5 separate regions of the Homo sapiens genome follow, and all the other regions are linked to region 1. Evidence: promoter capture Hi-C in 16 types of primary human blood cells and fetal thymus (Javierre and others, 2016). All regions are on one chromosome and are shown on one strand. The core of a region is centred on a gene start or on the middle of the fragment in contact, and the rest is flanking DNA. Distances in the headings are between cores, read along the strand shown. Region 1 holds the start of CCNL1 (cyclin L1). Region 2 holds the start of PLCH1 (phospholipase C eta 1). Region 3 overlaps GMPS (guanine monophosphate synthase). Region 4 overlaps MFSD1 (major facilitator superfamily domain containing 1). Region 5 overlaps KCNAB1 (potassium voltage-gated channel subfamily A regulatory beta subunit 1).

The links. Contacts are between HindIII fragments. The CHiCAGO score rates a contact against its expected background, and 5 or more counts as called.
Region 2: a contact is called between a fragment that was not itself captured here and the fragment with the promoter of CCNL1 in region 1, in 1 of 17 cell types (fetal thymus). The highest score is 5.4, in fetal thymus.
Region 3: a fragment that was not itself captured here is called in contact with the fragment with the promoter of CCNL1 in region 1 in 1 of 17 cell types (total CD8 T cells); the score reaches 5.6 in total CD8 T cells.
Region 4: a fragment that was not itself captured here is called in contact with the fragment with the promoter of CCNL1 in region 1 in 1 of 17 cell types (M0 macrophages); the score reaches 6.2 in M0 macrophages.
Region 5: a contact is called between a fragment that was not itself captured here and the fragment with the promoter of CCNL1 in region 1, in 1 of 17 cell types (naive CD8 T cells). The highest score is 5.3, in naive CD8 T cells.

What each region holds. Positions count from the first base shown.
Region 1 is chr3:157,155,248-157,161,397 of GRCh38, forward strand. It overlaps CCNL1 (cyclin L1), which reads right to left and starts at 4,900. Exons shown (of 11, transcript NM_020307.4): 1 at 4,545-4,900; 2 at 4,158-4,232; 3 at 3,619-3,728. The coding sequence starts at 4,847. RefSeq lists enhancers at 4,112-4,181, 4,815-5,544, 5,632-5,681, 5,702-5,761 and a silencer at 4,322-4,531. The HindIII fragment of the contact is 11,903 bases long and covers 1,638-6,150 here.
Region 2 is chr3:155,744,231-155,749,819 of GRCh38, forward strand. PLCH1 (phospholipase C eta 1) reads right to left here and starts at 841. Exons shown (of 23, transcript NM_014996.4): 1 at 610-841. RefSeq lists enhancers at 78-699, 594-803. The HindIII fragment of the contact is 869 bases long and covers 1,664-2,532 here.
Region 3 is chr3:155,886,410-155,891,922 of GRCh38, forward strand. All of the region lies in intron 1 of GMPS (guanine monophosphate synthase), which reads left to right. Among named protein-coding and RNA genes, the nearest start is that of GMPS, 19 kb to the left of the region's middle. The HindIII fragment of the contact is 3,641 bases long and covers 511-4,151 here.
Region 4 is chr3:158,807,119-158,813,185 of GRCh38, forward strand. It overlaps MFSD1 (major facilitator superfamily domain containing 1), which reads left to right. Exons shown (of 16, transcript NM_022736.4): 5 at 278-345; 6 at 2,061-2,169. Among named protein-coding and RNA genes, the nearest start is that of MFSD1, 8.1 kb to the left of the region's middle. The HindIII fragment of the contact is 699 bases long and covers 2,524-3,222 here.
Region 5 is chr3:156,139,864-156,145,676 of GRCh38, forward strand. The region is part of intron 1 of KCNAB1 (potassium voltage-gated channel subfamily A regulatory beta subunit 1); the gene reads left to right. Among named protein-coding and RNA genes, the nearest start is that of KCNAB1, 22 kb to the left of the region's middle. The HindIII fragment of the contact is 8,066 bases long and covers 1-5,813 here.

The DNA.
Region 1 (6,150 bases), core at 3,650-6,149:
TTTGTTAATAAAAATTATCTATACCTCTTAAGATAACCTGCTTTAAGAACTGCCTTCAAATGGTGATATAATTCATTTGTTCTTGCAATTACACTAAAGAAGCTAAATATGTTTGAATTATAGCTACTATTTAGTCCCAAATCAGACTTAATGATGCCATTTTCTTTGTTTTTGTGTCAAAATGCCAATGACATCAAAATAGATTTAAGAAAACCAAACCCATTATTTACTATAATTCAATATATACTTAACTTCTTGCTTAATCCTGCTATTTATTACCTGCAATTTTCAAAGTTAACTTTGTGGGTATATAACCTAAAACCAGATACCTTTATTTTGTTCAGAATTGGTTCTACCTCACAAATCAACGGTGCACACGTAATTTACAACTACCTGGTAGAGATTACTTTGTATCATAAATTTAAAAAATATATCTCCATCAATCAGCAGTAAACAAAGTCTCAAAGTATACATTAGTACCTTCTGTTGCAACAAGCACATTAAATTAAGGCCTGCTAGAATTTCTTCCTCCCCAATCAGGTAAACTTTCTTTGCCAATAAAGTTTGAGGAGGTGGCATTTGAAAATCTCTTTAAAAAAGAAGTCTTCATCTATTCAGAGAAAACTCAAAAATAATTTTCATTATCAACACACAAACTAACTCAATCTCTGCTTTAAGTTTCTATTGTCCAATTTTTCTGATTTATACGAGAATTATTTTCAGCTTTAGAAAATCCTGGTCTTTGGTCATTAGAAGTTTATTATTATGGTTTGTTAGAGGAGCTATTTTCCTTTAGCATGATTATGTAATTGACATATAACTCAACAACAACAAAAATTACAAAGTCCAAACATGGTTAGTTTCATTTATGTGTTACAAAGACTGAGAAATATTGGAACCAAGTCTTCAAGAGACTATAACAGATTGGTAGTTTACAAAGAGGCATACTGCCAAGCAATATACAAAAATTTGTAATGCCTACTTAAAAGTAGAAACATCCTTTATAGGTATTTAAACAAACTGAAGGCCACCTTGTAGAGCCACAGAATTATACTGTAGAAAGGTGGTAGACTAAATGACATCACTTAACACCCTTCCAATTCTTACCTATCCAACTTTTATTATCTATGGATACACTGAAAATACATTGTATTTACTAATGAGAATGGTTAAACCAGTCTTTGAAAATTTTAATACGCTGCATCTCAAAAGTAAATATTTGGAAACTAGAACAATGAAAAAGCAATCCCCCCTCTAAATTTAGCTGTTTATTGTCAACTTAAAAGATAATTATCGAACCACAAAAAACTGAAGGAGGAATAGGCCAAACAATCCAGGTTGGGGACTAAGCACTGGTACTTTTTAAAAAGCTCCTCTGCTAATTCTCAATGTGTAGCCAGGCTGAAGAGACCAATGACCTACAAGCAACATGAATAATGTATCTCCACTGTAATTGTCAAAGTCACACTACAATTTAAAGTTATGAATAAACTAGATTAAAACAAATAGCATCATTAAGACAAGTGATATGCTTTACCTAACCAATGTATAATACTGATAGTACTTTCTAATGACATTAACCTATGCAAAAATAAATACAAAGCTATAGTTCTAATAACTTGGACAGCAAAGACAAAAGCTTATAACAAGAAACAGGAGTTTTTCTAAATGGTTCACCAGTGGCCAACCTGTTAGTCCCCGATTCCAGTGACCTATTCTCAGAGCACTGGCTTCTCCTTGGGGATTTTCGATACTTCACTCACTGTTGCCATGACGACAGCTTCATCTCTATGTACCACTCCACATCACCCAGGCTTTGGTAAATGTAGCTGGTCGCTGTATAGTCGGTTGCAAGGGAAAAAAGAGTTGAAGTTAATAACATATACAAGTTACGTGCTTGAGTAAACTTGTAATATGCATAGAAACACTTTTACATCCTGCTTTAAAAAAAGGCTTCCATGCAATTAACAACTCCTTTTAAATTTTGCTATAATCAGACTTCTAAGATTGAAACAAAATCAGTTTCTCTGTAATAATGACCCAAAAAACAAAGTTACATCAGACACAACAATCAGGTGAGATTATATTATTTTAAATTCCATGGTTTTTACAGTTAAGACCTATTCTAACATCAACGAAGTAAACTAGTCTCACAGGAAAATTCCACAGAAGATAATCATGTGATTACATAATAGTTGGCTCAATGGTTCAAAGAATACTAGAAAACCATTTCCTTTAAGCAAAGAGAAACCTTTGACTAAAGATAGAGCCTTGTATTAGTGTCATTACTTTAAACATCCTGAAGAATCAGCCAGGTATCTAAATACAGATTTAACCTCAGACCATACCAAAGACCAATTTGAAATCTTCCCAATTCCCAGGGACTCATCAACAAACTAAAAGATATTTTAGAATTTAAAAAGTACTCTATCCCTGGACACAGTTAAGGTGAATGAGAAAAGATGGGGGAGAAAAAGTATGTAGGAAAACTGTTGCAGACTTTTTGACTAGGATACTCTTTTTTTAAAAAAGAACTGTCTGTAGACTCACAGAATAGACTAGTCATCTTAAAGTTGCTTTAATATTTGCTTGTCTGAATAGTTCCATTACTGCCAACTTACAGATTCAGCCAATAAGGACTACTCATATAGAATACTAACAGCACTAACCAACATACCCAACCCCCAGAACAACTTATAATCCTTTTAATAACTTCCTTTCAAACTCAGTACAATTTGTCTAACATCACTACAATTCCTTAAAGAGTGAATGCAAAAACTATTCTACACCAAATATATCATTCTGCAGCATGTACTGGAAGTCACCTGTAGATGCAGGAAGTCCTGCAACAAACTTTTTGGTACTGCCTCACAGGAACACATAGGTCCACATAAAATTATGTTACCACAACACCTAGGAGATACTATTTCAGTCTCTGTATTTTCTTACAACATCAAATAAATGGCCCTATCTAAATGCAACCCAATCAATCTTACTTGTTAATTTTCTAACCCACTCACTGAGACTGTATCTAACCAAAACAAAATACCTGTTTAATCCCTTTGACTTCAAACTTCAAACTTTATCATCCTGCAGTCCTTTCAGATCCGGTATTATTCGATTTATCGTAGTTCAATGTTGAGAAGTACTCTAACAAAAGCCAACCTCAATTGATAAAGAATTAACTGGGACTTCGAGTAGAAAAACATAATCTACACAGAACTTTGCCACAATATTAACTTAAACTACAGTGTTTAAACTTCCAGCCTTCAGTCTTCCAGAGAGGGGAGAGGAAAAATAACTTACAGAATACACTCACACTTGAGCCAAATGTACTCCCTTTCTTGTTTAATCTTAAGCCACAGGCCTGGCTTCACAGCACTGTTAGGATTGTCCATAAATGCAACTGCCTCTACAAACTTTAGATAACCGGTTAATTATGTTTCTTTTTTCAAATTATTTTAAGTATCAGTGTTCCTATATGAACTTTAACACCTAAATTAAAGTCCGTTTTCTTTTGCATCCGTATTCACTTGAAAGGAAAGATGTTTTGATTTGATGACTGGTGCACGGTACAGCAGTAGCAAGAGATACTATGTTCAATAATGCCAATCTTACCTTTTTCCTCTTAACTGGCGGAGGTGGTGGAATACATTAATCACATCTCTTATTCTTCTAGGTGCTTCTTCGATTTTTGATGCAAGATTAATACAAGCCATAGCAACAATCTGAAAGAACCCATGAGCCACAAAAGCCATTGTTAGATTAAACTCACTTTGAAGAATAAAATTTAGAACACAATTGGGACAACCTTTAGTAAAATTAGAGAAGACATCTCTATGCCGTAAGTCTACCAGCTATGCTAGTACTATACTTTTTGTTGTTTAACTCATCTTAATTTTGGTTCCAGAGTCAAACTCAATCTTACAGGAGTTCTGCATTTGGTTGAAAACTGTACTTTTCGTTAAGAGGGCACTTAGGCTCGTGATCGATTTTGAACCACATTCTAAAGGTTTCCACTTCCTGGCGAGTGAGAAGTAGGTACAAAGGCCTAAACTAAACCACTCCCTTTCTGGAAAAGCTGGCTGCTGACACTACCCCTACTCTGCCCATTTCCGGATGAAGAAATCCCTTTTACCCGCCTCCGCTGTGCTTACCTCGAAACTGTGTTTGACGAAAGATTTGGAGTAGAAAAAACGATGAAACAACACCTGCCCCGTTGCCATCGCCACCTGCAGACAAGAGAGGAGAACGGAAGCGCAGGGGTCAGGCGGGCCCGCTCCAGGCGCCGCCGCCATTTTGTGCCGCCGATCGCTTCCCTTTCCCCTCCCGCCGCCGCCGCCGCTGCGAACAGCCCGCTGCCAAGTCCTCCCTCCGCCTCCGCAGCCCCCCGCCCCGGCACGCCCCGGCCGCGGCTGGGCCCCGAACGGGAAAGCCTGAAGGAACCGTCCCCACCCTCCCGGGGCACGGTGATACTGAGATGCGGCGTAGGGGACGGAGGAGAGGAGAGGAGCGCCCGGCCGGCCCGGGGCCGGAGCACTGACCTGCGGCAGCCGGAGGAGAATGCCGGCGGCCTGGATGAGCTCGCAGCCCAGGATGCGTAAGTCCGTCTCACTGGGCAGGTCGAGCCCATCCTGCATGGATGGGGTGGGCGAGAGCCTCTCCTCCGGAATCAGAGAGTGGTCGATGGTAAGTGAAACTTCCGAGTACAGGCGATCGCCGATCAGGATCCCTCCCGTCGTGGTCGTCGTCGTGGTCGTCGTCCCGGAGCTGGAGCCGCCCGCGCTTGGGGCGGCCGATGAGGCGGCTGCGGCAGCAGTAGCTGTCGAATGAGGCCCGGACGCCATAGTCTTAGCGAGCCGCACGCAAGCCCAACGCAGCCGGAACCCGAAACAAGACTAACCAGCGTTCTCGGCGCGACGGATATTCCCGTGACCGCCGGGTTCTGGGCCGCTTCACGCCGCGTGCGCTTCCGCCCTGACGTCACCACGCCGGGCAGCCGCGCGCCAACTAGTCCCTCCAGGCCGCGCCTCCGCCCTCGGCATCTGGGCCTGCGAGGGGAGTGTTGGGTGCTGCGACAGACCTTGGGATCCTCAGAGGCTGAGGAGGCCTTCTCTAGCCAAGGCCGGTCGAAACCACCTTGTTTGTGATAGCCACACGAATAACGGAGCTTTACAAGATCCCTTATACCCAAAATAGAGGTGGCAGCATTGGCTAGCATCTCTGCGCCCCTTCGCCCTGCATTCCGGCCTCTTCCTTTAGCCTCGGCGCGGCTTGCGTTCCGCGTGTACCAAGGGAAGTGGCGGCCGACCTGAGCGCGCTTTGGCGGGTGGAAGTGGTGACTTTGTTGTCCTGTGTGGACGAATGTGTAATATAAAGTGACCCTCAAGGAATCTGGAGAGGGCTGCTTTACAGTATTTGAAGAACACAGGGCTGTGGACCCTATCGGTTCCCAAATGAAAGCTCCCCGGGGAGCGTGTTTTTGCCAGTATGGGGAAGTAGGGCGGAGGCATAGGAATGACCGCGAGAGTGGCTGCTTTCATAGCTCCGCTTGCGAAACTCCTGCCCGGCCTTTGACACCGCCACGGCTTTCAGTAATCTGGAAAATCCCTAGTTTCCAAAAATAGTCTTAGGGCGAGGACTTGACAGAGGTAATTTGATTATGCCTGGGAGTCTCTATTCATACATGGTTACCTACCGCGGGTAGGGTGAGGTCAACCTCGTGTTTTTTGTTTTTTTTCCTGTGATATTAGCTAGCAATTTCCAGCGTTTCCTGAACCTTGAAGTAAAAACAATGATACTGATCTAAACTACTAGAATCTAGGTTGGAAGGAAAGGAATGCATCACGTTTTACTCTTGACGCTCAGAAAGCGATACCCCAAAGACAGAGGCTTTAGAAGCTGCCTCATAATGCAGGTCCCCCAACCTTGACTTGTTGCTCCCACTTTTCCCAAGTGCAGGGAGGTACTCTCTGAAATTTCCTTTCCTGACTAGAGAAGCCTCTTTGTAGAAGAATCAATCGCATTCCTCCCCTCGCTGAAATCTCGTATCCTATTTCAAAAAGACTCAGAAATGCAGCCATTCCTGGAGGGACTTTTTCACAAGATTACTCAAAAGAAAATTATTTACTAATTTCTGTCCATTCATTG
Region 2 (5,589 bases), core at 848-3,347, 1.4 Mb before region 1:
GCCGCCGCGGGGCCGGGGTTTGCCTCCACCACCCCGCGCCGCTCGGGCGCTCTTGGTTCTTCCCAGGAAAGGGCAATGGAGTATATCCTCCTCGCGCTGAGCACACCTAGTCTCTAAGAGGTCCTGAGCAGGGTCACCGGGCGCAGGAAAAGCTGTGAGACTCCCCAAGTGTAACGGACGCTGCACTCCCCTTGCTGGGAAACGCGGACCTGCTCTCCTGGCGGCGTCTGGCGGTCAGAGAGAGGGTCCCGGGACCCCGCGTGAGGGTGAAGCATCCTGCAGCGAGGCTGGACCTTCCACCGGGCGAAACGCCACCCACCACCACCGCAAGGGACCCGAGAGTTACATTATTTCGCGGACACACACACCCACCCTCATCCTTCTGAATTATGGGACCCTGAAGAGCGGCCGTGGCCAGTTCCCCGCACGGGGCCTTAGGGGATCCCCACGCACAGCACTCACAGTCCTAAACAGGCGTGTGCCGGCTGTGGCTGCCGAGAAAGGAACTTGGGCCACCTGCTCACTCGCTCATCGGACTGGCGTACCAGTTCTCTTTTTCCTGCACACCCCCTTCTCTCCTGGGCCCCTTCTTCCCCCGAAAGCACTGACCTCCTCAGCTTTGAGTGTTCAGTAGCTGAAGGACTCCTCGGAGTCCGTGGCACAAGGAGCCACCTCCGAAGTGCTGGGGTGATGAGTTATTGGCCCCTGTGACTCCAACTCCAAACCCCTGCCAAGGGCCAGAAAAGCCCCCCTAGAAGAGCACTTCTCCCCACTAGCCAGCAGAAGCCCCAGACGAGCGGGGAAGAGCAGGGCGCCGCCGCCACAACCTGCTTTCTCATTCAAATCCTCACGCTCACACAGGAGCCCCCCTCCCTCTCGGCCCCGCAGCTTCCGAGGAAATCAGGAACTGGAGTTGCGGAGAGCGGACTGGAGCGCCTGCTGCCTCCTCTGGCCCGGGCGGGATGGGTGTACGGAACCCTAGGGCTGCACGTGGAACCCCAAGGCTGCACCTGGAACCCTTGGCTTACACTCTCCTGCGGGGCTCCCCGCTTGGCAAGGGCCAGAAGCACTGGGAATGAAGTACTTTTACTCCCCCGCAAGTTTCAAAAGTTTCGAAACCCAGGGTAACCCCTCGGGGCTGTAGCCAGAGGGCCTCGGTGGTGGGGGGTAAAGGAGTTGGAGAAACAAAGTTGGAAGTGAAGGGCGCAGGGAATGGGAACTGCGTGCAACTTGCACCAAAGTGAAAAGTGTTCTCAAACGTCCGTCTTACCTCCTTTAAAAAAAAAAAATTTCTAAGAATATAGCATCTGTCGATGCCGCAAATTAAAGAGATCTACTCTGAGTGAATGGGAACTGCGTGCAACTTGCACCAAAGTAAAAAGTGTTCTCAAACGCCCGTCTTACCTCCTTTAAAAAAAAAAAATTTCTAAGAATATAGCATCTGTCGATGCCGCAAATTAAAGAGATCTACTCTGAGTGAAGTGCAACTAAAATTGAGAGCGTGTAAATGGTAACACTTTGCTTTTATTTACCCCCAGTCTCTTCATTTGGAAATGCTACTCCTTGGCATTAACAGGCCACTTATTCACTTAGATCCGTTTAGTGGCTGGTTGACTCAAGCGGGCAACCTGCCGGGAGTAAGAAGGCGGCGGTGGCAGAGGAAAGCTTGCACGAAGCAGGCACTCAAGTGTTGATGAAACGATGAAATCTACTGAATGCACTGAAAGGATGAGTGACCAGCTTGGGGCGGATGCTGGAACCGCCGCTGGCCTAGACGGCCGCGGTGTGATCCGGCTTCTGGATTCCAGGATTTACATTTATCAGCCTTCATTCAACCTGCCCTATTGTTAGTTCAAAGCCTGGCTGGGAAGGAGTGGGGACGCAGCTCTTCACTCACCTTTCAGTTTAAAATAATCCTCCAATAAGAATGTCCTAGGAAAGCTGGCAGCATGGGGTTGGCAGGGATTTTCTGGGCTTAGTGACAACATAAACTAAAGTCATTTTCTTTTTTCATGCGTGAATTTGCCCAGGAAGTTACAAACGAGTAAGTTACAAATGAGTGCCTGAGATTGGAGCTCAGGGCCTTGGCTGCCTGTTCTCTTTGACAGACAGTGTGGAGGGTGGTAGCACTGTGACCTCTCAGCGCAAGATCTAGGGTTTCACCTTTTCATCCCACTTAGCCGATACCATAGAAACAACCCATTTGTATTATTCAATTCAACAGAGGCAATTACAATGTCACAGCAAAGCACCATGGGCAAGAAGAAACTTTGTCCTGAAAACAATCCTAGACTCTCAGAAAAAAGAAAAAAGCCACCAGAATACCCACTTGAATTTCTTCCTGCCAATAGTACCAGGAAGAAATCAATTTGGAAAAAATGTAGGTAAGGTCCTTTGCCTCTATAGAAAGAAACCTCCCCAAATTTACTTGTTTTTGTTTTTGTTTTTTTGCATGCCCATACACAAGCCTCAATTTATAAGAAATTAAGTCATTAACCCTCTGCCTCCAAACTGCTTTATATTTTGTAAACAAGCTTGTTGGAGATTTGTTTTGCTGGTAACCTCCATGGTGAATAGAAAAGCCAAAAAAAAAAAAAAAAAAAAAAAAACCACCAAGATAATCCCTCAACAGCAGCAGTTCACCCCCTAACCTCCGGTGTTTGTCTTTCTTGAGTCTGAAAAAATGCAGATGCACATGTTGAAATAAACTCAGACACAAAGTTCATAATAAGAGCACTTGTTTGCTATGCATTCTTTATTTTGATAGTTTTAATCAACTCCCATAATTTTGTAAACTTTTAAATTTTTAAATTGTGTGATATTTCAAACCTACCAAAAACAGGATATATACCATGTAATACTCCTGCTCCCCCCAGCCCTTCTTTTTTAAATAAAGCATTACAGATATAGCTAAACCCCAACTCCTGACTCGTTACCCCCACCCCTTCCCAAAGGTAATAATTCTGAAGTTGGTATGAATCATAATTATGCATGTTCTTAAATGTTTAGGACATTTATACATCCATAATCTTTTAATGTAGCTTTTCTCTCCAAGTCGTTTTAACATTATTTATCTGAGAAAAATCACTAAAACAATTAATTAATTAATTGGAGAAAATCACTAAAAACAAGAAAATGTGTTACATTGCTAAGTTTTTAGAAGCAGGACAGAACTATTTTTCCTGCTTGTGACAATCAGAGTATGGAATAATAACAAAGGGATTAGACAGTGGGTAATAAGCAGCCTCTCTAGGTTACACAAACTCTTCCATGGTTACCAAAGAATAAATAGAAAAACAAAACAAATAATACCCTCCTCTTTCACTGGTTAAAGGGGAACTGGAGAAAATGAGATCTTCATTAAAACTTCTTTGGGCAGGTAAGACAAACATCCTACATGGTAGTAAAGTACCTTTTCTAGAGGATCTCTTGGTCATGCAAGCTATGATCTTTTAGTAAGGATTTACCACTTTTCCAAGTATAAAGAACTCCTGCTGGTAGCTCAATACAAGGTTGAAATCCGCCTGGCTGAAAAGTCTGGGGTTGAATTAGCCCTGCCTCTTCAAGCACAGGGACATCCATCTGTACAGTAGTTACAAAAATCTTTTGCTGTGATTCTTTGACTTAATGTCCTCCCAGCATTAAAAGTGCTAAGAAAGCATCAATTTTTCTTAAATGCCATTGAATGGTGAAAGGCATCCTTCCCAACCCCCACCCTCTTCATTTCCTAAGCGATGACTCTCATTAATTATACTGGCACACCACTGCCCAGCCTCCCTTCTAAATAGCTGCCAGATTTCTACATATCATCTCTGCCTTGATACAGAATGTGCACTGACACCAGGATCACAGAAAATCCTGTAAGAGGTGCCTGATACACAGTAAAATGATTGATGTGCCTTGTGGTGAGCCTGCTGTGCTGCGTATCGTAGGGGGTTTCTTAGAAAACTGCACTGGGAATTTCTGTGTTGGAAAAAGATTTTTCTAGCTGTGCAAAAATTGTGCTTCCAGTTGCAAAAAGAGCCATTTATTTAAGGTGTTCAAATTTAAACAGCAACCATCTTGAGTTATATCCACGAGCAAGAGAGGAAAGGAGATAAATGTTCCCTATTTTAATCAATGCACCAAGTTAAGAAAACCATTGACCAAAAAAGCGTATCAAGGAAGAGGCACTCCTCTTTCAACACATATTTCTTTAGTACTTGCCATGTACCAGGCACTGCTCTAGGTGGTAAGCCTTAGCTGGAATATAGATAGCACTCCTGAAGTAGAGCGTAGTACCTGTCTTTATGGCCCTACTCTACAAATTGGTCACGGCTTTTAGGTACAAATAACAAAACCCCTTATCAAACCAGCTTGAGTAAAAAAAGCTGATGTATTGACTCCCACTTTAAGATAGGGGGAAGGATAAGGACTTCAGAAACGGTGGGAGTCTAGCAATTCAGAATCAGCATTTCTCTTGTTAAAGAAAAAATTAGTCAGTGTTAAAGCATGGTAAGGAAGGCTTTATCCAGCACGATCGAAATCGGCACAGGGACTACTGCAAGGAGCTCATGCAGAATACAGCATAGGCAGCTTGGAATTTATAGACAAAGAACAGATGGGGTTGCTGGATGAAAAATCACTAAGAGGAAACATCAGGAATATGAGGAACTCTAGCTAACCCGACATAACTGGATTCTTGCTGAACACAGGCCAGGGAGATCAGACATGACCTGGGCAATAGTGGAGGATGAGGGATCTGATCAGATATTGAGAATGATCAGATATGGAGAGTGGGGGTTCTTGCTAAACTGACTTGGCAGAACTCTTTTCTAAAACTGAGTTTTACAAGAAAACGCACATATGGGCCCAGGAGAAGGCTCAGAAGCATGACTAATGTTTGTTTGGCCAAGCAAGGAATTTTTGTCACTCTCACACTTTCACCTTTGCTCCTACTATTTCCCTGTCTCTGCTTTTCTCAGTGTTTTGATCCTATTCTCTCCTATTCCATATGAGCTTTCTGTACAAGCTGGGGGTGGGGAGAGCATGACTAGAGACAGCTCCAGGTTTCAATCGTCTCAGCTAGAGAGGCCTTTTTGCTTTTACCATCTGTAAATAAGATGGTAGGAAAGGATTCGAACTGACCTGACTTAGGTCATGTGTCCATCCATAGGTCAATTACTGTGGACAACAATAAGTAGAGTATATGTGTGGCCAGATCCTGATTATACACACACCCTTATGGCCAGGAAGGCGGGGTATTATAAGTAGCAGCCCATCAGAACTGCTTGGAACCAGGGAGGATTTGTTCCCAAGATGAAAGGGGCTGGTCCTACCAAGTGAAGGCAGGAAGAGATTCTGGCAAATAAAAAGAATAGATATGGGCTGGGCACGGTGGCTCACACCTGTAATACCAGCACTCTGGGAGGCTGAGGCGGGTGGATCATGAGGTCAGGAGTTCGAGACCAGCCTGGCTAATATGGTAAAACCCCGTCTCTACTAAAAATACAAAAATTAGCCAAGCATGGTGGCAGGCACCTGTAATCCCAGCTACTCGGGAGGCTGTGGCAGAGAATTGCTTGAACCCGGGAGGCAGAGGTTGCAGTG
Region 3 (5,513 bases), core at 1,081-3,580, 1.3 Mb before region 1:
CTAAAAATATGAAAAATTAGCCGGGCGTGGTGGCAGGTGCCTGTAATCCCAGCTCATCGGAAGGCTGAGGCAAGAGAATTGCAGTGAGCTGAGAGGTTGCAGTGAGCTGAGATCGCGCCACTGCACTCTAGCCCGGGCTACAGTACAAGAGTCCATCTCAAAAAAAAAAAAAAAAAAATCTAGCATGTCTATTCCTGATGACTTTTTTTTTTTTTTTTTTTTTTTTTTTGACACAGAGTCTTGCTCTGTCACCCAGGCTGGAGTGCAGTGATGTGATCTCCACTCACTGGGTTTCATCATGTTAGCCAGGTTGGTCTCGATCTCCTGACCTTGTGATCCACCCGCCTCAGCCTCCCAAAGTGCTGGGATTACAGGCGTGAGCCACCGTGCCCGGCCTCCTGATGACTTAGCTGGGCTCACCTCTGTTTCTTCCCTTGAAGCCTTGGGATGTCTTCCTGTTCTATGAGAAATTCCTTGAGACACACTGGGAATCCCTTTCCCTTAAGGAAAAGCTTTTCTGCAACTTTATGTGACTCAATATGAATTAACATAATATTAACAATGGCAATGATAGTTGTGTCATTGGACTAGTGGAATTTTAAGATATTAATATTTAAGATATATTGTAATTTCAGAGATGCGTGGCTTCTTTCACTTGGCAAGTTTGAAATGATTCATTTATGTTTTGGGGATTTTTCAGCCAGAAAGGACAGCATACCACTCTGGAGCAATAGAGAATTTTAAAAGAGCAGTTTGGCTAAAGAGTAGGCCAGGTTCTTATAGGTCTTGGGAAATATTTTGAGCTTTATTGAACAGTCTAAGGGGAAGTCACTGTAAGGTTTTGAGCAAAGGAAGATTTGAATCTGATTTTTTTTTTCTTTCTTTTAAGCACACTGGCATGTTATCCAAACTCAGTATCACCAGTAATGGAACAAAATGACATTGTGTCTTTGCATTGTATCATATCAAGAGGAGGCATGATAACATTACCAATGTAAATTTCTTGTCAAATGTTTATCTAGAATCTGATCATGATACAACAAAGAGATCCAGTGTGGGACATTCTACAAAAAGCTGGTCTGATCTTTAAAAAAGGTCAATGCCATAAAAGACTATAAAAAGGTGAGGAGGTGAATAGTTGAAGGAGACAATGTATGACAATGTGTGTACTGTGTGTGTGGTCCTTGATAGATTATGGAATTTTTTAAAAACCATAAACACCTTGTTTTTGACAATTGGGGAAACTTATATGTAGATAATTATCAATGTTAACTTTCTTGGATGTGATAATGATATTGTAGTTACATAGGAGATTGTCCCTGTTTGTAGGAGATGCATGCTGAAAAGGTTTTGGGGGAGTGAAAGGTATACAGTTTAAGTCGTTCAGGTGGAAAAAGTGTATGTAGATGGAAATAAAGCAAATACAGCAAAATGTTACTGATCATTGATATAGATGAAGAGTGGTGTTTATTGTACCAAACTTTCAACTTTTCTTTAGGTTAAAAAATTTAAAAATAAAAAGGGATAGGGTAGAACAACAGAACTACAGAGTCTTACTTTTTGATTTAACATTTTAGTTTAGGTTCCAACTTCATTCAGTGTTATGTGAGATGATGGCCTCTTATGAAAAACCTCAGTAAAATTGACCAACATTCCTTTATTTTAATTATTAAAAATTTTTTTTAAGAGATAGGGTCTTGCTGCATTGCCCAGACTAGTCTCCAATTCCTGGGCTCAAGTAATCCCCCCTCCTTAGCCTAAAAAATTATGTGTGCTTTTAATCTAAAATACCCAAAGGCTTTTTTTTTTTTTTTTTAATCCAGTAATTTTGTTGGAGTATGTTTTAGGGTTGGTCGTTCTGAGTTCATAGACTAATTTTGATTCATGTTCTCTCTTGCCTTGTGTAATTTTAAAAGTATCTTTTAGCTACTATAGAAATAGTACATTCTAGTTTTGAGCTGAGGATGTCTTTCTTGCTTATTCTCATAGAGACATCATTCTGTTCTTTATTCCCTCTATTTTTTATTTTTATTTTTTTGAGACAGGATCTCACTCTGTCACCCAGGCTGGAGTGCAGTGGCATGATTATGACTCACTGTGGCCTCAACCTCCTGGGCTCCTCTCACCTCTGCCTCCCGAGTAGCTAGGACCACAGGCACGTGCACCCACTCCCAGCTAATTTTTTTTTTTTTTTTTGAGATGGAGTTTCACTCTTATTCAGGCTGGGGTGCAATGGTGTGATCTCAGCTCGCTGCAACCTTCACCTCCAAGGTTTGAGCAATTCTCCTGCCTCAGCCTCCCAAGTAGCTGGGATCACAGGCATGCACCACCACACCCAGATAATTTTGTATTTTTAGTAGAAATGGGGTTTTACCACGTTAGCCAGGCTGGTCTCGAACTCCTGACCTCAGATGCTTCACCCTCTTTGGCCTCCCAAAGTGCTGGGATTACAGGTGTGAGCCACGGCACCTGGCCTAATTTTTGTATTTTTTGTAGAGACAGGATTTCTTTATGTTACCCAGGCTGGTCTCGAACTCATGGGCTCAAGCGATCTGCCTCCCTCCACTACCGCCTCCCAAAGTGCTGGTATTACAGGCTTTAGTCACAGGGACCTGGCCTCCCTTTTTTTTACTTTTAGTAACTTTGTATGGGATTTAACTTCTATACTTTGTTTCCTTTTTATGTGAATTTAGTTTTCCTCAACTTTTAGAAGGAAGCTAGTCAAGATAACGTTTCTAACTTCATACAACTTCCTCTTCTGTTAAAAAATTATGGCACTTGTTTCCTAAGAATTCCTGGCTCTGTCCCTGTGCCCCATGTTAGTCTGTTCCTTCTCCCTTTTTCCTGTCCTGTTAGTTTTGGTCATCTCCCAGCAGTGGCTCTTCATAGCAGGCCCTCTCCTGGAAAGGATCTCTGACTGGTTAGTGTCAAGGGTTCATGGGGGTTAAACTCTCCTGGCCCCTTTATGTCTTACCTTGGGTTCCCTGCCACTTGTGTACTATTGGTGTGGGCAAACCTCCTCCTAGCGCGCTGCGGTTCTCTAATTGGGTGCTGTGCCTTCTGGGTCGTACCTCTTGGGTGTTGGGAATTCTCCTGTTTTCAGGTCCTTTAATAAGGCTGGATTGCTTCCCACGTAGGTGCTGTAGCACTAGGGTTTGTGGCTGTGGTAGTTTGTCACCACCAACTTGTATTTTGGGGTTCTTGTAAATGTCTTTGCTATCTAGTTGTTCAGTAATTATGTGGGATCCAAGAAAATCACAAAACATTTCCATAAACATTTCCATCTCCACTTTTCCAGAATCTGCTAGATCTTCTTACCCTATTCTTAAAGAGTTTGCTGTATATGGTTTAATTTTTTCCTTAATATTTTTTCTTGATATCTTAAAATATATCTATGAATATTGCTTATTTTATTATGATGCACTCAGGGCAGTGAGGGATATTCACCTTAAGTCTTTAGGCATTTGTCTTTTTAATAGCTTTATGTAAATAGATATGGTAGATTTTTCTATCTTGTGATGCTGAATTTTATTTGTCTCTGCATTGATGTGACTAAGTTTCTTTTTTCTCATTAGGATGGTTTTTCTAATATCTCGAATCTAATTATCAAACTTTACAACTGTGTGTGAAGTGTGAGCAAATAAATGCCAGGTTTTGAGGGAGAGGAACTTTGCTTTTACTAGTGGGAGCCTTTTTGTTTTCTCCTGAATTGTCAAAGCTGTGACAGTTGCTGCATAGGCAAGGTCATACCCACAGTAGAAGGAAATAGGGCAAGGATTCAGTTTCTTCAGTAATCTCTTGTGTCACAGAATTGAACATTTATTGCTAAGGAAACAGGAAAATTCTTTTAAAATACATTTTTTGAGTAAAGATTAGTTTACTTAAATAAATACAGGCAGTCCTTGCTATGCAGGATAAGTAAAACAGCTAAAAATAATAATGCAAGCTGAAACCATGCAAAGCAATTTTAATAGTCAGTGGGAAAATTACAATTGTTTTGTGATCTTTAAAAATTTTTGTTAAATCACTAAAAACTTTTGTCAATTACAAAAGTGTAGGGAAATAAAAAAATAGTAAAACTACTGTTTACTACAGTATAATTTAAAATACTAGGAACATTGAGAATTAAAGTATTTTATTTCTTTGTAAAAAGCTTATCAATAGTAGTTTAAACAGCACTTCTCTGTGTCGTTTCTGTGCCTTGGTTGCTTCCAACATTTTATCCTTTGCAGTTTTAATGTCATGAAATATCTCCTAGAGTTGCTTTAATGTGAAGTATTTTCCTGGAGTCACTTCCTTTGGGACGTTGCCATTCTTTCCATCACAACCAGTTTCCTCACTGATGTTGGTAAGTTCTGTGGCTGTATATCTAGAGGCTCTCAAACCCTGTCAGCCTTGCCACAGTCAGCATTTTCTTCTGTAACTCCATATATTCAAATTTCACTCCAGCATTATCACTTTTCATTTCTTTGCTGCATTTTCATCTTTGTTGGCCAGCCCCGTTTGGATTATCTGTATTTGTAAAAAGTCCTTTGGGGTTTATCAGTGTAAGACAGGCAACACACTGCACTCTGGCTGTTTGTTGTCCATTGACCAATCACCAATAGAATGAAAGAAGGGAGGTGATTGGTCACTGATCCTGATGTTCATCTGTTATTTACATGGTGGTTTGTGGACTGAAGAGCTGGCAATGAAGTTTGTCCTTTATATAATTACTCACAGTAATGTATGATAACTGAAATTTGAGCCATGTTGTTGGGGACTGGTAATTAACTAAACCTTGGTATAAACCATGGTAATTGAAATTTGTGCATATTAGGATTATGCAAGGCAGGAACTCTGCCTGTAATGTAAAAAAGCATACTTAGATTTGGTAAAAATGGTAAAGATAATAATGGGACTGAGTCTGAGAAATTTATGCAATAATGTAGTGTTTAAAAATATTTTTTAAAAAGTTAAGATTAAGGAATTATAGAGAAAATCCATGAAGGGGTGTGTGTATGTGTATACATTAATACTAAGGGTAAAGGTCTGAAAGGACAAAGTTGTAGTTTGTTCTGTGATTTCACTTTTCTACGGTATTGAATATTCATATGACCAGAACCTTCATTTCTATGACCTGAGTAATTTCTTCTGGCACCGGATTGGCTCCCTCTCACAAATCCTCCTCTGTAGATGACTGATTTGTTTGTTACTTTTTTTTTTTTTTTTTTTGAGATGGAGTTTTGCTCTTGTTGCCCAGGCTGAAGTGCAATGGCGTGATCTTGGCTCACGGCAACTTCCGCCTCCTGGGTTCAAGTGATTCTCCTGCCTCAGCCTCCCGAGTAGCTGGGATTATAGGTGCCCACCACAATGCCTGGCTAATTTTGTGTTTTTAGTAGAGGCAGGGTTTTTCCATGTTGGTCAGGCTGGTCTTGAACTCCTGACCTCAGGTGATCCACCTGCCTCGGCCTCCCAAAGTGCTGCGATTACAGCTGTGAGCCACCATGCCTGAACGCTTGTTCGTTTTTGCA
Region 4 (6,067 bases), core at 1,623-4,122, 1.6 Mb after region 1:
TGACTTCTAAATTCTTATCTAATTAATTCCATTGGCAAAGCTGTGTTTAATTAATGCCTAGCTTAATTAAGCAGAACCCATAAATGCCCATGTGATATAATCCATAGTCTATTTTAAGCCTTGAAATAAATGAACATTAATATTTTAACTTCACAGATTTATTAAGGAGAAATATTAAAACTATTGTAGAAGTTGAGATTTATCATGTTCCTTTTGCTTCTCTTTAATACTTTGAATTTACTTTTTCATTAATTTGACATGAACTTCTACATTATAGGTTGTTTTTGCCCTGGGTGGAATATTTAATGCTTTTTGGCTGATGGAATTTGGAAGATTTGTATTTGGGTAAGTTATGCATAATTTAATTTATCCTAATGTATTATTGTTTTAGTGTTCATCTATGAAAGATCTTTAAAAAACCTTGTCTCTTCTGGGGAATTACTTCAAATCTTTGAAACCTAGCTTCATATGCATAAGAGTATTTCTTAGTTGTCTTAGTTTTCCTTTAAAATAAGCAACAATTTTGAATGGTCCTAATCAACTCTGTGTGGGGTTTGAGTATTAAATAGTTCTCTGGAAATGATATTTTTCCCAGGCATTTTGCCTGTTCTGTTGTATTAAAGACTATGATTTGAACCACATTTAGAAAAGTATAGACCATCGATTTCTAGGTTGGTGACTGATGGACATTTCACTCTTTCTTAGCAAGTGATGCGAGGGTCCTTTCAACCCTGTCCAAGAGCTTTGCTTGAATGAGCACAATATGTGTAAGCTGACTATTCTGTGTGAATTCTTATAGACCAGTTGTTCTACCTGAATTGCATTGTCTGTTCAGTAAGCCTATTCTGAGACCAGCCTTGGGCTTGCTGCCCTGAGGGACCCAGATGACAGAACTGACTCAGTTTTAAAAGCATAACTTATTCAAGCTTTGCACAGGTGTCAGGAGCATGTAGACATAGGTGACATACCCCAAAAAGTAACCGTCAGTGAGAGAGAAGGAAGAAGAATGTATGTAAAGTTATGACAGGGATTCAGAAACAGAAATGTGGTCAGAAATGGCCTTACAGATGAAGTAGGCCTTGACAGAAGTACAGGATTTGGATTATTAGAAGAGAGGGAAAATATTTTTGGGCTAGGACAGAGTCACAAGAAATAAGACTATTTCTTATTTGTCTTAAGACTGTTTCTTAGTCCTTAATACTGAGGTGGCCTCGGTGTAAGGATATGGAGGAAGGAAGCTCCTAACTGAAGGCCCTTGGAGGAGAATCGTAAATATTGAAACTTACTGAAGGAAAATTAAAACCCAGGAAGTAGGAGAGTGTTGAATATGGAAAGTGAATGTGGGGATTGATTGATGGAGAGCTTTGCATATTGTTCTGAAAAATGTGAGTTTTTATGTTTTCACAAAGCATGGACCACTTTTCCCACATCTGCATTTTATATAATATCGATGGTAATGTAGTAACCAAGACGACTCCTTTTGTTGCCTATCATGGTTATTATTGCAGTATATCATGTGACTCCCACACTTAGCGGTATAAAACTACCATTTCATTATGCTCATGGACTTTATGGGCAGGAATTCGGACAAAGTGTAGCAAGGACAGCTTGTCTTTGCCTCTAGTGTCTGGGGCCTCAGCTGGTAAGATTCATGGAAGGGTGGGGGCTGGGATCATCTGAAAGCTTATTGACTCACATGTTTGGCACCTGGACTGGGATGCCTCAAAGACTGGGACTGCTGACTGGGGCACTTACATGTGGCCTCTCTTTGTGGTTTGCTGTCTCATAGCATGGGGGTAGTGGTTCAGGGCTCCAAGTGCGAGTGTCGGAGTGAAAAGGTGATGTCACCTTTTATAACTGAGCCTTGGGATCACACTGTCTCATTTCCACCATATTCTATTGGTTGAAGTAGTCACAAGCCCACCTGGATTCAAGGGGAGGGGACAGAGGCCCCATCTCTTGATAGGAGAAGTGCCAACATTTTAAACCTGCTGCATTGCTAACTGTAGTATTTCTTTAAAGTTGTGACTTCTGGTTTTTTTTTTTTTTTCTATTTTTAGGATTGGTGGCGAGTCCTTAGCAGTTGCCCAGAATACATATGCTGTGAGCTGGTTTAAAGGCAAAGAATTAAACCTGGTGTTTGGACTTCAACTTAGCATGGCTAGAATTGTAAGTATAATGAAAAGCCTGATGAAGCCAAATGGAAGCAAAAGATTAAATCTTATAGTTCTCTTAAAAATCACAGGATGAAATGTATTTGTGTATGGTAAATTAGATATTAACTTTTATGGATTTCTCTAGAACACAGCATGGCATTTACCTTGAGTAAAGCATTTCTAACCTTATTTCATCTAGTAAACAGTCTAAAATGGTTGTGTACATTCATTAGTTCAAAGAATCTGAGCATAGGGAGAGATCCTGTAAGTTTTGTTGTCTAATTTCTTACCCATTTTTGGCATCCCTGCTAGAACCTCTCCACATACGGCTGTCCAGGTTCAGTTTGCAATATTTCCAGGGATTGCAAGCTTGCTCTGTGATGAAGCAGCCCACCTACCTTAATGAACTTTATGAAGCGTAACCTCACATAGCGATGAAACCTCCATTTACAAGTAGCTTTTACTGATGGCTCTGACTTTTGCTCTCTGTAGATAAAGTTTACTTCCTCTGCTGTGCATCAGCACTTTGCTCCTTTGTAGACAGCTCTTAAGTTCTTGGTTATGTGTGCTCATTTCCTGTGGTTGCCTGAGCCATATGACATGGATCTCAGCTCCCTTACCATGGTGCTTATGCCTCTCTGAACTTATCTCAGTTAGCCAGTACTCCTGTTGGCATTTGGAACTTAGAAATGATCATGGTGTTTCAGGTTTGGTCTTAGAGGCTACCTAGCGGGAACAACATTATGGGTTTCGTTTGTTTGTTTGTTTGAGACAGGGTCTCACTTTGTTGCCCAAGCTGGAGTCCAGCAGTGCAATCTTGGCTCATGGTAGCCTCGACCTCCCAGGTTTAAGTGATTTTCCCACCTCAGCCTATAGAATAGTGAGACTACAGATGTGTACCACCATGTGCAGCTAATTTTGTGTATTTTTTATAGAGACAACACTATGTTTTTATTAATGCAAACTATAAGGTGTGTTGGCATTCCCAAATCCCATTAGGTTTTTTCTCTCAAGAATTCCCATGAATAGAGTATTAAAAAAAAATTTTTTTTGCCACTAAAAATCAAGCTTTCAAGCTTTGATTTTTAGTATATGTGCTGCCAAGGCGAGCAGAAGCTTTGACTTTTAATAAGTGTCGTGAAAATACAACATAGTCTCAGAGAATAAGAAACTCAATATAAAAATATTTTCATATAATACTTCATCATATGAGTATTTCTGTATTTTTATACATGTAAGTTCTTTCTGATTTTTCACTATTATAAATAGTGCTATAGTCTGACACTCTCGCTATGAAAGTTCTGTGCATCTCTTTTAGTCTCCATAGGCTAAGTGGCTAGGAATGGAATTATTAAGTCAGGGTATTTGTTAGGTCATCTGAGGACTATTGAGAGATATTTCCGCATTATCATTCCAGAGACGTTTACATCCCCACCTGTGGGATATGAGAGGATCCCTTTTATTGTAGCATTGATAGTACAGGCTATTATTACTTTTAGAAAATTACTTTATCACTTTGATAGGAAACAGCTAAATATTTGAATTTGTAATTCTTTGGTAAATAGTGTGGTTTTCCATATTTTCTAAATTTTGCCTATAAGGATATTCCCAAAGCCTTCATTACGAGTCTTGTGCAAGTCCAGATATGTCTGTGGCAGTTTGTGAATCTAGTTGTCTAACAACTTTTTAAAGAAGGAAGTGAAATCAGTTGAGCAAGACTCAACTGACTTCATTCTGGTTACCAGGACATCAGGTTCTTTTCTGTGTCATTTTAAGTTAGCTATAATTCATTAAGCTGCATTCTGAGGAGCCCTAAGTTTCTCTCTTTCTCTGTGTATGTATTTTCTTTTGATGACAGAGCTACTAGGATTGCTAACGGAAAATATGTAGAGTGTGGGGGAAAAACAACGGAGGCGCTCAGGATGACAGCACAGTTTTTGCTTAAGCAACTGTGAGCGCTGTAACCTAGCTCTTGATACTCTGCCCACCATCCCCTAAACCAGCTCCTGCTGTACTTTTCACATCCTTAGTTAAAGGCAACTGGGTTTTGGTCGTGTTAGGTTAGACATGCCTGCCATTCATCCAAGTGGAAATGTTGAGTAGGCAGTTGCATATACAGGTGTAGAATTCAGGGGAAAAATCTGGGCAAGTGATGTAAGTTCAGGAGCAAGGAAAATGCTACTTAAAATGGCAAAACTTGGTAAGATCACCAAGACTATGGATGTTGAAAGAAAAGAGATGATGTCAATTGACCAAGCCCTGGGGCACTTCCCACATTTGCAGGTTGAGAAGATCGAGATGGAACCAACAAAAGGGCTCCATTGGGGTGGGCAGAAAGGCAAGGGGGAAACTATAGGCTGTGGTATCCTGAAACCCAAGAAAAGAAATCAAGGTGGAGAGGATGTCAACTGCGTGAAATGCTATTGATAGGTCAGACACTGCTGAAGACTGAGAAGTGTACATGCCTTCAACAATGTTCTCACAGCAAATACAGTAGCAAATTTCACATGGCTGTTTCTTATAAAATACTAGCTAATGGCATTACTCAAATAAGCAACAAGGTAAACAGAGACCTACTGGAAGCTTTCTCTAATACCATCAAAAATATAAATTCCTCAAAGATAGGATGTTGCCTTAATAATCCTTTCATTCCAAAATACCTATTAAATAACTATTTAAAATCTCTTTTAACTATTTAAAATATCTATTAAATAAAATAACATGACCTGGCTTAGCAAGTACTCAATAAATGTTTGTTGAAATAATGAGTTTTCAAGTAACAATAGTGAAGGAAAATTGAAAGGGTGCTGGATCTCCAGTCCCGAGCTAAGACATGAATACTAAGAAAAATGAGAAGTGCACTGAAGGTATATGGTATATGCTAATAGTTCAAGTGTCTAAACACAATCAAACTCAAAAACTCAGGCAATAGAAAAATCATGGAGAGGTAAACCCAGGACCTCTGTGGTCATTCTGGAGGCTGCACAGGGAACAAGAGAAGCGCAAAAAAGACGGAATCTATGTCACCCCCAGCAGCCCTATAATGGAATAGCTCTTGGCCATTTTGATCATAAAATCATCTTACATGGACGCTAAATACATAAATCAGATAAAAGTTGAGCAGCGTTGGCTGAAACTGAGGTGGCTGCCTGCGATCTGGCTCATTTCACCTCCTCAAGATCTCCCTACCACTCTCATAATCCCTAAACTGCCTCTAAGAAGCCCCTGAGATTCCCTTCTAGAAACTCAGGGCAACTTATATGCAAATATATCTATGCTCTGACCACTTCCCACCATGCCCACTGCTAACCACCTAGGGCTAGGCCCAATCATCTCTGTTCTGGATTATTGCTATAGCTCCCTAACTGGTGCCTTTGCTTTTGCCTTGTGGTCTGTTTTGAAGATAGAGTGAGTCTGCCAGTATGAGTCTGTCAAAGTATCATGCCACTTCTATACTCAAACCCCAATGGCTTCCCATCTCACACAGAATAAAAACTGAAAGTCCTCCTGTAGCTTCCCTTCCCACCATTTCCTCACTGGGACCTCATCTCATCCTCTCCGTTCTGTTTGCACTGTTCCAGCCTCTGCTCTCCTTGCCATTCCTTGAACTCTCCAGGCAAGCTCCTCTTGGGGCCTGTGCAGTGGCTGTTCCTTCTGCCTGGAGTGCTCCTCCCTCAGGTATCCCCACAGTTCGTTTCCTGCAAGTTTATACGCCAAAGTTGCTTTCAGTTGGGAGGCCTCCACTCCCAATTTTATATTCTCCTTTCCAGCTTTATTTCTTTCTTATTTTTTAAAAGTACTTGTCAATATTTAATATACTAGATATTTTACTTTTTTTTTTTTAACCAAAGTAAGTTGGATATTTTTATGCTTTCTTCTTTTTTTTTTTTTGAGACGGAGTCTTGCTCTGT
Region 5 (5,813 bases), core at 2,742-5,241, 1.0 Mb before region 1:
TCTGGATGGGGAGTTAAGAGGTACACTTGCAAGAGATGTATCTCATACTCTGGAACAGCATATTATGTCTTTGTTTCCCAAAGGAGGTACAAGTACCACTCATACGGCATTAAATAACTGATTCACTTTGTAAATGTAGTGTATTCCTGTTTCAATTTCCTTTCATTTTTTTCTCATTATCTAAAAAGAAGGGAAGAGAAAATCTCAGATTTGTGCTAAATTATCTTTAAAACCTTTCTAATACTTTTAAATCTTTGTCAATAAAAGATAAAAAGAGTTAAGACTCTGATCCCAAGCCTCTGGACACTAAGTATCCAGCTGCAATGTAATAACATTCTTCATTTTTATTGCATTTTTTACAGACTACATTCTATTTTATTACAAGTGATAAGGTTTTTCTGTTTATGGTGGTAGTAAGATAATGTTTTCTGACTAAATGTCTTAGTTCAGGCTGTTACCATAGACTTAATGGCTTAAACAATGCACATTAATTTCTCACAGTTCTGGAGGCTGAAGTCTGAGATCAGGGTGCCAGCAGGGTCAGGTTCTTGGTAAGGGCCCTCTTCCCGGTTGAAGGGCCGCTGCTCTCTCCTTCCAGTGTCCTTACATGGTGAAAAGACAGCAAGCTACCTTTGGCCTCTTCTTATAAGGGCATTAATCCTATTCTGAGGGCTCCAAGATCACAACTCGCTTACCTCCCAAAGGCCCTATATCCTAATATCATCACACTGGGGGTTAAGATTCCCACATATGAATTTTGGGAGGAATGCAAACATTCAGTACATAACACTAAAAAAATTCATTTAGGTAGAAAAAGCAACTTAATTCCAAATAGTAAATAAATAATGGTATAGGATATACAAAAATACGGCAGAAATCACAAGGGGTGTGCAAATGTTTGTGAAACGGTTTAGAAGTGTGAAGTGAGGGCTTTAGGTTTGAATTGCAAGTGGAATTTCAATGAATAATTGTGTACCGGGGCTGGGAAGAATTCCTAGAGGAGGTGAGCTTTAAGGGAGCATGTGCGCGTGTGTGAAGATTCATGTCAGCAGAGATGTAAGATGTGATGGCAGGTGGGAGGTGTGAGTGTGAAGCTGTTAGACCGAATGAACAGTTTATGTCCAGGAGTCACAGTTGGAGGAGAGTCACAGCTGGAATCATGTGGTGGAAAAACCCATATGTGAGGAGTTTCTTTGCTTTTTTTTTTTTAAACTTTCTATTTTGAGATAACTGTTTATTCATATGCAGGTATAAGCAGCAATAGAGAGATTCCATATATCCTTTGCCTAGTTTCCCCAAATGATGGTATCTTGCCTTGCCACAGTTCAATAGCACAATCAGGAAACTGATGATGACACAAGCCCCTGCCCTTATTCAGATTTTTCCAATATTATATGCACTCATTTTTGAGTAATTTATATTTAGTTCCATGCAGTTTGGTTACATGTATTGATTGATGTGACCACTACCATAATCAAGACACAACAGTTCCATTATAAGAATCCCACCTCTACACTTTTATAGCCATAGCCATCTTCTTCCCTTTTGTCTTTTCTAACCCATGACAATTATGAATTTGTTATTCCTCTCTAGCTACAATTTTGCCATTTTGAGAATGTTATATATATGGAATGATACAGATTCCAAAATGCAACCTTTTGGTATTAGCTTTTTTTTTTTCCCACACTCAGCGTAAGCCTCTCGAGATTTATTCAACTGGTTGTTTTGACCAATAGTTCATTCCTTTTACTTGCTGAGTGGTATTTCGTAGTATGAATATGCCACAGTTTAATCATTCACCCATTATGGAATATTTGGGTTGTTTCTAGATTTTGGCTATTATGAATAAAGATGTTATAAACATTTGTGTACAAGTTTTCATGTGAACATAAGTTTTCATTTCTCTGGGATAAATGCCCAACAGTGTGATTGCTGTGTCATATAGTAAGTTTGGAATGTTTAGTCTTATAAGAAACTTTTCTGGAGTGGCTGAACCATTTAACATTCCTACCAGCAATTTATGAGGGATCCAGTTTCTCTGAATCTTTGACAGCATTTAGTGTTATCACCATTTGTATTTTAGCTATTGTGATAGGTGTGTAGTGATCTCTCATTGTGGATTTCATTTGTATTTCCCTAATGGCTAATGATCTTTTGATGCTCTTATGTGCCATCTGTATATCTTCTTCAGTGAAATGTTTGTTCATATCTTTTGCCCGTTTACCAATTAGATTGTTTATGTTTTTATTGTTGAGTTTGGAGAGTTCTTTGTATGTTCTAGATATAAGTCTTTTGTCAGATATGTGGTTTGCAAATATTTTCTCCCAGTCTGTAATTTGCTTTTTAAAATCCCCTTCACGTGGTATTTCATAGAGCAGAAGTTGTTAATGTTGATGAAATCTAATTTATGAGCTTTTCCTTTTATGGATTGTGCTTTTGGTGTCAAGTCTAATAAGTCTTCACTTAACTCTAGGTTCTGAGGATTTTCTCCTGTTTTTACCTACAAGTTTATAGTTTTACATTTTACATTTAAATCCATGATCAATTTTGCGTTGATTTTTGTATAAAGATGAGGTTTAGGTCAATGGTTCATTTATTTTTGTTTGTTGCTGTTCTGCTTTGCCTCGCTTATGGATATCCAGTTGCTCCAGCACCATTTGATGGAAAAGCTATTCTTCCTCCACAGATTTGCTCTTCATATTTGTCAAAAATAATTAGCCATATTTGTGTGAACCCTTTGCCTTTTACAACCACTTGTTGATATTTGTCTATCATTTGACAGCAACATCTGAAAGAGGTTAATGGACCTTTCACCCAAATGAATCATGCCTCTAGTATAAAAAATTATTTGATTACAAAATATTTAATAATTTAGAGAAGTCTCATTACATACTCATGAATCATCCCTAAGGCTTTATGGTCCTTATAAAAACAGATTGGCCCAGATCCCACCAAAATATTTCCTTTTACCTAAATAGAAAGACATGGGAAAAAGTTCCCATATTTTTTTTCCCCAGGGCCAGTACATAGTTGCTTATGTTTGACTCTGAGTACTTTAAAGGGATGAGAAAAGTGATTGGCCACCAAAAGCCTCCTTTATGCACAGGCCTGGGCAGGGACACACAACCAACAGCTCTGTCGGGAACTTAGGAGCCTGCTCGCCTACAAAAATGATAAGAGAGATCTAAAGAAAACAAGCTAAACCTTTTGAGGGACATACTGAAGCCAGATAACCCAAGGTATTCACAGCAAGATACAGTGAGTCTTAAAGTTAAGCACCGTGCAATTAGCTTTGCTTCCTTGGGTTTTTGAAACATGCATCTGTATAAACCTGCCTGTGCAGACATCCCGAGCCCCAAGCTGGGTCTGCCAAAATCCAGTGAATCGGCTCTAAAATGTAGATGGCACCTAGCAGTGACCAAGACTCAGCCTCAGGCGGCCTGCAAACCTGTGAGGCCCAGTGGAGCAGCCGAACAGAAATATGTGGAAAAGTTTCTACGTGTTCATGGAATTTCGTTGCAGGAAACCACCAGAGCAGAGACGGGCATGGCATACAGGTACTGCTGATTGCAAAGTCATCCAACCAGGGCACTGCACTGATGTCAAAGGTTGTTATTAAAGAAATAAGGACTGAAATAGCAAGACAAAACCCTGTAAGAAAAAGAAGGAAAAATGCAGTGAGCCCTCTTCTTGGGTTGCATTCTTGTTTTTTTTTTTTTTTTTTTTTTTTTTTTAGCTTTAAGCGTTCTCTTTTCTCAGAGGGTTACAGAAAAGACAGTCAAGTTCATCTGTGGAAACTCCTAACCATGTGCTCCAGAAGAAGTATCTTTGGCTCTGAGTAGGGAGGTGATTTGGCAGGTCAAAATGAAGAGTGGGGACTCCATTCTTCTTAAGGGAAAGAGAATTTATAAGTTAAGAGTAGAATTTTTTTTTTTAATGCTGCCTGGGATTCAAGACTTATTTTCTTCTAAACTTGAATCATGTGGTCTGTACTAATAGCTAATAAAGTAGTTCAAGTTCTCCTTGAAATGACAGCACTTTATTTATTTATTTATTTATTTATTTATTTATTTATTTTTTAAATCAGTGTCACCCAAGATAAATTACTGGTTGTACACTAAACTTCCAATATCATTATTTATTTTATGAAAGATTAACAAAAAGGAGAAATGTTTTCTTGGTATAGGGTTGGATGTGTAATCTTTATAAGTTGCTCTGTGATGGGAAGAATCTTTCCTATTCAGAGCAATTATTGCTCCTGCACAAGTGCTTCCTTTACGTACGCCTGGAGTTTTAAACAGCCCAGAAGCTGAGTAAAAGCTATTCAGAAGGACAAGGTACTGAAAACTGAAAAAACAATTTAGCAATTGTAAGAACAGTTGTCCTAGCTCATATCAAAACTTCTGCACAGCATAAGATTGTTTTTCATGTACAAGATGTCCCCAGTGATTTCATTTTTCCAAAATCTGAAGGTCTATTTCAGTGTAGTAGCTGCTGCTCTAATTTATCAGCTAATTATATTCATAAAGCAATTTGCAATGATATGGCTCCTCTCTGGAGAGCAAAGTATTTTACACAGACTCTATGTAATAAAAGGGTTGTGCAGAAAAGAAATGAACTCTTCTCAATTTATAAGGAGGATAGGACAGCCTACCACATCCTGCTTTAGAAGGGGAGCTCACCTTTTCATGGTAGCTCATGGAATGAGGAGGGATGGATGAGGAGGAGATGCTGCTGTTTCTTTCTGAATCTGTCACCGGAAGGAGCCTGCTTCTCTGTCCCCCCACGTTTTCTCTCTTCTCCGTGTTTCCTCGACCCTCAGTGGTGGTAGTGATGGTGATGTGAACACAGATCGGGCGAAGGGGAAGATGGACCATTTCACTTTTAAAAAAGTCTGCCTCCATGTCTTTGTCATAGGATGGGTGGTATTACCATGAATTGTTACATAAACCTTTAGAGGGTATGCCTTTCTCTCTCAAAAGTCTAGTTTAAATATCAATTACAGATCTGTGCTGTGTGCCAATGTTCAGATGAAGGTATGTTCTAGGAAAGCATTTTTCAAAGGATTATGAAGTAGAGGAACACGTTCTTCAGACAGGTGAAAGCAAAGCTGCCTCAGCTAAAGGTGGGAGCTTGGAGCCCACCTGCTTGAGGGGAGCAGTCATCCCCCAGCCTCTTCTGAGACACCTATGTGGATTCCATACTCCCCATAGGTTTTGGGCGACTCTTCATGATGCCTTGGTGGGGAAGGCTCTGTTACCTTGGAGATGCCAGATACTGCCTTGGACAAGGGTGTATGCTACCATATCACACCCTAGTAAGAAATGGGACTTAGGAGAATGTTGCCCCTAAATCAGTTTGAGGGGAGAAAAGCACAGTTTAATTGATCATTAACCCTAAGAAATAGCCAAGGCTCTAAATTATGATGAGCTTGTGCTCTGACACATCTTCCTGACACATTTCTCCATTACCCACTCCCCAATGTCCTTAGTGCTCTGTTTATTCTCCCTTTAAGACACTCGCTTACTGCCCTTATTTAAGACATTCTCCTGCAACCATTTGGAAAGGATTTTTAGGAAAGAGAACCAGGGTTCTCTTGGCTCCTCCCCAACTTAGCTTTAGACCTTGATTTCTTATAAACATAGTTGGGGTTAAGAGAGAAGCTGACTTTCATATTCTTACTTCTTTATTATGATTTTTCCCCCTCAGGAAAAAGAGGGTGGGCAGGGGACCATGGCTATGTTAAAAAAACAACCTCTGTTAAGCCTTGTTTTTTCTATTTTCTTTTTTCTTGTAAAGTTGAAAGAAAATGG